2 separate regions of the Homo sapiens genome follow, and region 1 is linked to region 2. The links are contacts of gene promoters, found by promoter capture Hi-C in human tissues and cell types (Jung and others, 2019). All regions are on one chromosome and are shown on one strand. The core of a region is centred on a gene start or on the middle of the fragment in contact, and the rest is flanking DNA. Distances in the headings are between cores, read along the strand shown.

Region 1 (3,990 bases), core at 702-3,201, 46 kb before region 2:
AGCTCTTGAGTGTCTAGGTGTATTGTCAGTGAGCAGTAATATTTTGAAAGGAGTCTTTATTCTGAGCAATAGGTCTCAACAGTATGACTAAGATATCTAATAAACCATGCTATAGACAGATGTGCTGTCATCTAGGCTTTGCAGTTTCATTTATGTACAGCACAAGCAGAGTTGGTTTAGCATATTTCTTAAGGGCCTTAGGATTTTTAGAATAGTAAATGAGCACTGGCTTCAACTTAAAATCACCAGCTGCAGTAGCCACTAACAGCAGAGTCCACCTGTTCTTTGAAGCTTTGTAGCCAGCCGTTGACTTCTCCTCTATAACTATAAAAGTCCTAAATAGCATCTCTTCCATTAAAAGGCTGTTTGATCTACATGGAAAATTTGTAAATTTAGTGTAGCCACCTTCATCAATTATCTTATCTAGATTTTTTAATAATTTGCTGTAGCTTCTGTATCAGCATTTGCTACTTCACAGTGTATTTTTATGTTACGGAGATAACTTCTTTCCTTAAACCTATGAACAAATCTCTGCTAACTTCAAACTTTTCTTCTGCAGTTTCCTCACCTCTCTCAGCTTTCACAGAATGGAAGAGACTTGCTCTGGATTAGGCTTTGGCTTGAGGTAGTATTGTGTGGCTAGTTTGATCTTCTATCCAGACCACAAAAACTTCCTCCACATCAGTAATAAGGCTGTTTTGCTTCCTTATGATTCGTGTGGTCACTGGAATAGCACTTTTAACTTCCTTCAAGGACTTTTTTTTTTTTTTTTTTTTTGCATTCACAACTTGGCCAACTGTTTGGTATGACAGGCCTAGCTTTCAGCATATCTCAGCTTTTGACATTAGTGAAAGCTTTGGACATTCATGAAAGACATTAGTGAGCCTTGCTCACTAAGCTTAATCATTTCTACCTTTGATATAGAGTAAGAGACGTACAACTCTTCCTTTCACTTGAACACTTAGAGGCCCTTGCAGGGTTACTAATTGGCCTCATTTCAACTTTGTTGTGTCTCAGGGACTAGGGAGGTCCAAGGAGAGGAAGAGAGATGTTGAATGGCCAGTCAGTGGTGTAATCAAAACACTCACGACTTGTATGGATTAGTGTTGTATACGGGCATGGTTTGTGGTGCTCCAAAACAATTACAGTAATAACATCAATGATCACTGATCACAGATCACCGTAACAGATAAACAATAACGAAAAAGTTTGAAATATTGAATTACCAAAATTTGACAGAGACACACAGTAAACACATGCTGTTGAGAAAATGCCACCAATAGACTCGCTTGATGCAGGGTTACCACAATCCTTCTATTTGTAATGAAAACACAATATCTGAGAGGCATAATAAAGCGAAGCGCAATGAAAGAAGGTATACTTGTATGTCAGTAATAGCATAGAAGATGGGTTTAGATAAGTGCTGTCTTTCTGTTGTAAGATTCTTGCATTTCACAGGAAGTGATGCAATATTAGTTAAAGGTAGACTTGATAAATTAAGAATATGTATATTGCCTGGAGCAGCACTAAAAAAATACAAAAAAAATAGTTAAAAAGTCAATAGAGAAATTAAAATGGACAGCTACAAAATATTTGATTATCCCAAAGAAGGCAGGAAAGGAGGGAAAGAGGGACAAATAAACACATGATACAGAAAGCAGTCAAATACCAGTAAAGTATATTGAGAAACTGACAATATTATTAATTATTCTAAATGTAATAATATTGGGACTAAAGCCTCCAATTAGGCAGGAGAGACTTCTGGTTTGGCAAAATGAAGAGGTCAGCAAATCTTCTCCCCAAAAAGCAACTATATATACTAAAATCAAAACTGTCAAAAACAATGATTCAGAGCTCTGAAAATCAAACAGAGCCATACAGCAAATAAAGTTTGTATTCATGAAAAACTGCTAAATTTGGGATAAGAACTGCAGGAGTTTGTGGTATTCAAGCTTCAGACTGAAGCTGCTTTCATCCTCCCCATCCCCATCCAGCTTGGTCGGCAGGGTAGTTCTAGCCCAATGGGACTGGCTGTGAAAACCAGCAACTTGCTGCAGAGAGGACTCACTTGGTTTGGAATGGGAGGGAAAAAAAAATCCATATCCATCATCCCTGTCAGTAATGCTAGCAATCTTCGTGACCAGTAAACTGGGAAAGCCAACAACTCTACTAACCTGAGATTGCAGTCCTGGTGGAAGACTAACCAGAAAGTTAACAAGGAGATTCAGGAAACCAGATAGTCCTAAAGGGGCTTCACAGATCCCTGGTGCACGAGGATGCAGAGCACATGCAGAGAAGATGAAAGATGGCCTACCTGAGAGTAACGGCCAGGGCTGACCTGAAAACTTCCTGAACTTTGATAACCCACACAGATCTGATAGAAGTGTATGGAAGCCTCACTAGCTTGAGGTGTGTGGTAGGCAGAATAAAGTCCTCTCTTCCCCGCCCCCCCACAAAGATGTTCAGGTCTGATCCTATAACTTGTGACTATGTTAAGGGCATATGGGACTTTGCAGACGGGATGAAGGTTAAGGACCCTGAGATAGTTTATCTTGGATTATCCTGGTGGGCCCAATCTAGTCACAGGACTCTTTAAAAGCAGGCTTTGAAGATGGAGAACATAAGCCATAGACAAGCAAGGTTAATGCCGTCTAGAAATTGGAAAAGGCAAGGAAACTGATTCTTCCCCAGAGCCTTCAGAATGGAATGCAGCCTTAGCTGGGCACAGTGACACACCTGTAATCTCAGCACTTTGGGAGGCTGAGGTGGGTGGGTCGCTTGAGGTCAGGAGTTGGAGACTAGCCTGGCCAACATGGTGAAACTCCATCTCCACTAGAAACACAAAAATTAGCCGATATAGTGGAGGGTGCCTGTAATCCCAGCTACTTGGGAGGCTGAGGCATGAGAATCTCTTGAACCTGGGAGGCGGAAGTTGCAGTGAACCAAGATCGTGCCACTGTACTCCAGCCTAGGCAACGGAGCACGACAAGAAGAAGAAGAAGAAGGAGAAGGAGAAGGAGGAGGAGGAGGAGGAGGAGGAGGGGGAGGGGGAGGGGGAGGGGGAGGGAGAGGGAAGAGAAGGAGAAGGAGAAGAAGAAGGAAAAGGAGAAGAAAAGAAGAAGAAGAAGGAGGAGGAGGAAGAGGAAGGAGGAGGAGGAATAGGAAGGAGGAGGAGGAAAAGGAAGGAGGAGGAGGAGAAGGAGGAGGAGGAGGAGAAGGAGGAGGAGGAGGAGAACAAGGAGGAGGAGGAGGAATACAGCCTTGCCAATGCCATGATTTTAGCCCAATGATTCCCAAAGAGGACTAAAATAGTAAGTTTATTTTGTTTAGACACTAAGCTTGTGGTACATGTCAGCAATAGAAAAACTAATACAAGGTGTTTGATCACAACCTGTGACCAAACATCAGCTGACTCCTAAACTATGAAGAAAATAGAAGCAACCCCTAGGAATTCAGGCTTAAAATAAAATAGTTTTTTTACAAACTGAGGAAAGACATCAGTAGCAACACATCACAAGGAAGACAGTATCCACAGATTTAGTCCAGGTAAGCTACTAAACAAACAAGCAGCAACAATAACCATTCCCAGGAGGCATCGCAGTCCAGAACTGCTACAATATATTACCTACATTATCCAGTTTGGAACAACAAAAAGCTATGAGACATGCAAAGATATAGGAAAACATGATCCACACTCAGTAAAAAAAATTTAGTCAATAGGAATGGTCTCTGAGTGGGCCCAGATGTTGGATTTAGCAGACAAAGTCTTTAAAACCAATAATTATGTTCAGAGAACTAAAGGAAACAATGTTTAAAAAATCAACAAAAATATGAATCAATGACTCAACAAATAAAGAATCTTAATAAGGAGATGGAAGTCATGCAAAAGAACCAAATAAAATTTTAGAGTTGAAAAGTTCAGTAACTTTCTAAAATGAAAAAGTTAATGTTTTTAGTATTGTTGTGGTGAGCAACCAACAGACTTTAGAT
Region 2 (4,502 bases), core at 1,258-3,757:
CTTTTTTGTTTCCATTCCTATTCATGTTTTCAATGTCCCCATTCTTCACTCGCCCCATCCCCCACTAAGTCCCTTTCTCCATTCATTGCAAGCCCTCTTAGTTTTTTCTTCTGGATCTGATGCCCTTAAGCCATCCCTCCTCTGTCTCCGATTCCAGGTCCACACCTTGCCCCTACTACGACCTCTCCCACTGGGCCCTGCCTGATCCTCTTTCTCTGCCCCTGTCCAGTTGCCCACCCTTGTCTCCCCCTCTTCTCCTCGCTCTATCCCCAGGATCCTGTGGGCGGCTGTGAATTTTGCCCTGTGCTTCCTTCTCTCCTCTCTCTTTGTGGTGGGGTCCACAGCCAGTTCTCCTGTTGCTCAAAAATGTGGAGGCAGTTGCTAAGAGACAGCGAAACGTCAGTACCTGGCCCTCGAGGAAAAAAAAGGGGAGTGAAAAAGGGAGAGAACTGGGGGAGGGATGGAGGGAGGGAGAGAGAGAGGGTGGGAAGGGGGGAGGGAGGGGGAAGACCTGGCTCTGGCGGAAGCCTTATACCCCAGCAGCCTGGGCACCAGCTGAGTTTCAGAAAGAAGCATTCAGATTCTGTGAACTTTCTTCCGAGCATCCTGTCTCTGTGATTTCCCTTTGGGTGAAAGAAGGGGCAGGGGGACCGCAGGACGGGAAATCATAGAAGATGCTGGCCTGGGATCCGGGAGACAAGGAGGAGGAGAGGCCGGGGGAGGGGAACAGCCTGGGAGGCAATCTGTTCTGAAGCAAGCAAGGAGCAAGCGGGGATTCCAGGAGGAGGGAGGGAGACCCGCGTCTGCCGCAGATTGATGGCTGTGTCCTTGGAACGGAGTGAGTAGGCTCCTGGGGCCTGTGGGAGTGCGAGGGGGAGACCTGGGGCTTAGAAAAATGAGTCTGCATGAAGGGGAGCTGGGGTGATTTCCAGGTGGGCGGGATTGAGGCTTGAAGCGGTAGGAAAATAGGCAGCGCCAGGCCGAGGGTGAGGGGAGGACCGAGGACAGCAGGTGGGCAAGGGAGAAGCGAGAGGGCGCGGGGCGCGAGGGCTGAGGCTCTGGGCGTGGCATCACTCTCGGTCCCTCTGCTGGGGGCGGCGAGGAGAGTGCAGTGTGTGGAAAGGGATGCTGGGATGAAGGGTGTGCGCTGAGAGGGGGGCGAAAGATGCTGGGGGTCGACTGGGGAGGGGTCTGCAGAATCGCCTGTGCAGAAGGAAGCTGGAGCGAAAACCGCGAGGCGTGAGCACGGGGCAGGGCAAAATACGGGGGAGTCACAGAATGGTGTGTGAGTGAGTGTGTGTGTGTGCGTGTGAGAGAGAGAGGAGTGCTTAGAGTGTTTGAAAGGGGTGTGCAAACCCCCAGAGTGTGGATGCAGATTTTTCTTAGGGAGTTGTTCAAGGGTGGCGTGTTTGGTACTAATGAGGGTGGGGTTATGAGAAGAAGAAGAAAATGCATCTAACCCAAGACAGGAACCCAGAGGAGGATGGCTGCAGGTTGGGTCAGGGAGGGCTCGTGGGTAACAGCAATGTGAGCCTGGGGTCTGAACCTACCATGGCCCACACCTGACAGACAGTAAGCAGAGAACTTTGTGGTTGGGGGAGCAAAGGAAAGAGACAAAGATAAGCCAAGCGTCCTAGGTGAAGGGACAAGGGAGTGTCAAGGGCACAGGATTTCTCTGCCTGAGTGCTTTCCTTGTTGACAGAGGGAATTTGGCCTCCACCTGCTGAACACAGAACTGCGCTGAGGAAGGCACTGGCTTGGAGAAGATGCCAGAGCTCTGCCAGCTGACACTCAGCCTGCACCTTCAGGACTCATGACTTCTTCTGGCCCCAGAGGCCCAGACAGTGGGCATCACCTGGGGTCCTCCTCTCTTTGGGAAAAAAAGAGGCTTCCTGGGGATTCCAGCAGCCACTGAGGCTGAGGACTCTCAGGCTTTTAGGAGGCCCATGGAGACTCACTTCCTCCCGGGCCCTTTTCCCAAAACACCCACCCTGGGACCCCCTTGGACTCCAGCCCACCAGGCCACCAGGACAAATGGCCTCTGAGACCTTCAACACTGAAGACCCAGGTGCAGCCCCGGCTTCCTAATCAGTCCCAGACGTGGGACAGGACTTAAGTTTTCTCAGAAGAAGTGCCAAGGATCTTTAAAGGGCACGTTTCATCTCCTTCAGCCCCTCCCTCCCAGACACAGCACCAAGAGGAAACATCCAGCAGGCATGGGTGAGAGAGACACAAAAGATCTGCAGGAACTCTTCCAGGACTTGCTGGCAGCTGACCTAGCCCCATTCTTGTCCCCTCCCTTTCTCAGGTTTTGATCATCATTCCAGACCCTAGGGGACCTCAACTGGGTGTCTTGCCCCCTAGGCTCCGGAAGGGGACCTCCCGTGGATCTCAGGAAGCCCTCTGGTGCTCAGAGGCTCCTGGGAAAGTCCCTAGCCATGATACCACATGCTCAGAAGCCCCACCTTCACAGACGCTGGCCCCAGATGTAGCTGCCTTCCTGTGTCACAGACTCTCGATTCCATGGACACAGTCCTCATGGGCTCCCTCCAGCACTGCTGTTGCCTGCTGCCTAAGATGGGTGACACTTGGGCCCAGCTTCCCTGGCCCGGGCCACCCCACCCAGCAATGCTGCTGATCTCCCTCCTCTTGGCAGCCGGGTTGATGCACTCGGATGCCGGCACCAGCTGCCCCGTCCTTTGCACATGCCGTAACCAGGTGGTGGATTGTAGCAGCCAGCGGCTATTCTCCGTGCCCCCAGACCTGCCAATGGACACCCGAAACCTCAGCCTGGCCCACAACCGCATCACAGCAGTGCCGCCTGGCTACCTCACATGCTACATGGAGCTCCAGGTGCTGGATTTGCACAACAACTCCTTAATGGAGCTGCCCCGGGGCCTCTTCCTCCATGCCAAGCGCTTGGCACACTTGGACCTGAGCTACAACAATTTCAGCCATGTGCCAGCCGACATGTTCCAGGAGGCCCATGGGCTAGTCCACATCGACCTGAGCCACAACCCCTGGCTGCGGAGGGTGCATCCCCAGGCCTTTCAGGGCCTCATGCAGCTCCGAGACCTGGACCTCAGTTATGGGGGCCTGGCCTTCCTCAGCCTGGAGGCTCTTGAGGGCCTACCGGGGCTGGTGACCCTGCAGATCGGTGGCAATCCCTGGGTGTGTGGCTGCACCATGGAACCCCTGCTGAAGTGGCTGCGAAACCGGATCCAGCGCTGTACAGCAGGTAATAGAGGGGCAGAACGGGGCAGTCAACAGGGAGGGCTTGCCTCAATGGGAAGCAAAGGCTCCAAAGAAAGCGGGGGAACTTAGAGCCAGAAAGCACCTACTGCATTTTCTAATGTGGGCTTGCCTCTTTGTACACCAGCTCGGCCAACAGGTTGTTTGTAGAATCCTTCCAGTGCATGTGAGGCACCGAGGGCCCATTCATTCATTAAATAGATGTCCCTCACCACTGCGCTGCTCATGACCTAATGAGGCAGACGGATAGTAGACAAGTGAGAATAGCCTATGGTTGGTGGTTTTTATTGAGCTTTCACCATGACCTAAGATCTTGGCATCCATTATCTCATGAGACCCCCATTTTTATTATACCCATTTTCCAGGTGAAGAAACTGAGATTTAGAACAATAAAAAGGCTTGACAGGAATCACACACTTAGAAAGTGGCAGGGCCATGAAAAAAATACAAATTAAAAAATTAAAAAGTGGCAGGACCATGAATAAAACCTAGATTTATCTGACTTCTAAGCCCTGTTCTAATCTACCAGAATGCTTTTTTAGCATTCCAAGTGTTGGAAACTCTCGTATAAATAGTAATGACTAACACAATCTCAACAGAGCTGCAATAGCTTAAGTTGCGTGACAGCCAATATGTTCCAGGAGGAACTTGAGACCTTAGTACTTGCTATTTACCAGGCCCTCTCTTAAGCAGCTTTACCTATCTCTTCCTATCCCCAGAAGAACACTAATGAGATTGCCACTCTACAGAGGAGGAAGCTGAGGCACAGAGAGGTTCAGTAGCTTGTTGGAAGTTACACAGCTGCTAAGTGTTGAAGCCAGGATTTGAGTCCTGGCAATCTCCCTGACTATATCCTGAAGAGTCAGGTTCTGGCCTGCCGGAAGAGTCAGAACCTGAGTCCTGGACTGGCCAAAGGGCTGCAGTAGAGTTCCAGGACCTCATGCAGCTCCAAGACCTGGATCTCAGCTACGAGAACCTGGCTTTCCTCAAACTCAAGGCCCTGAGCAGTGTAAACTTTGGGCACAGGGTAGGGAGCTGAAAGGAAGACTGAGATGCGGCAACTCAACCAGCCAATCCCAACTGGAGGGTGGACTGGGGCCTGAAGAAGCCCAAATCACATAGGTTTGATGGGCATCCCAACCCAGTGGCATCTGAGCCTGACCCAGAGGCAGGCAATGTTCAGCTGTGGCCCTAGCCACCAGCTCTCCTGTGTGACAACACCAAGACTTGGCACAAGAACCCAGAAGTAG

The links. Contacts are between HindIII fragments. The study calls those that stand out against the background at their distance.
Region 1: a fragment that was not itself captured here is called in contact with the fragment with the promoter of LRRC55 in region 2 in 4 of the 25 tissues and cell types used here (H1 embryonic stem cells, aorta, pancreas and 1 more).

Annotation. Positions count from the first base shown.
Region 1 is chr11:57,133,766-57,137,755 of GRCh38, forward strand. The region is part of intron 6 of LOC105369309 (a long non-coding RNA gene); the gene reads right to left. Among named protein-coding and RNA genes, the nearest start is that of LRRC55, 46 kb to the right of the region's middle. The HindIII fragment of the contact is 4,484 bases long and covers 1-3,990 here.
Region 2 is chr11:57,179,446-57,183,947 of GRCh38, forward strand. LRRC55 (leucine rich repeat containing 55) reads left to right here and starts at 2,508. Exons shown (of 2, transcript NM_001005210.4): 1 at 2,508-3,238. The coding sequence starts at 2,578. The region is part of intron 4 of LOC105369309 (a long non-coding RNA gene); the gene reads right to left. RefSeq lists a silencer at 2,910-3,204. The HindIII fragment of the contact is 8,931 bases long and covers 1-4,502 here.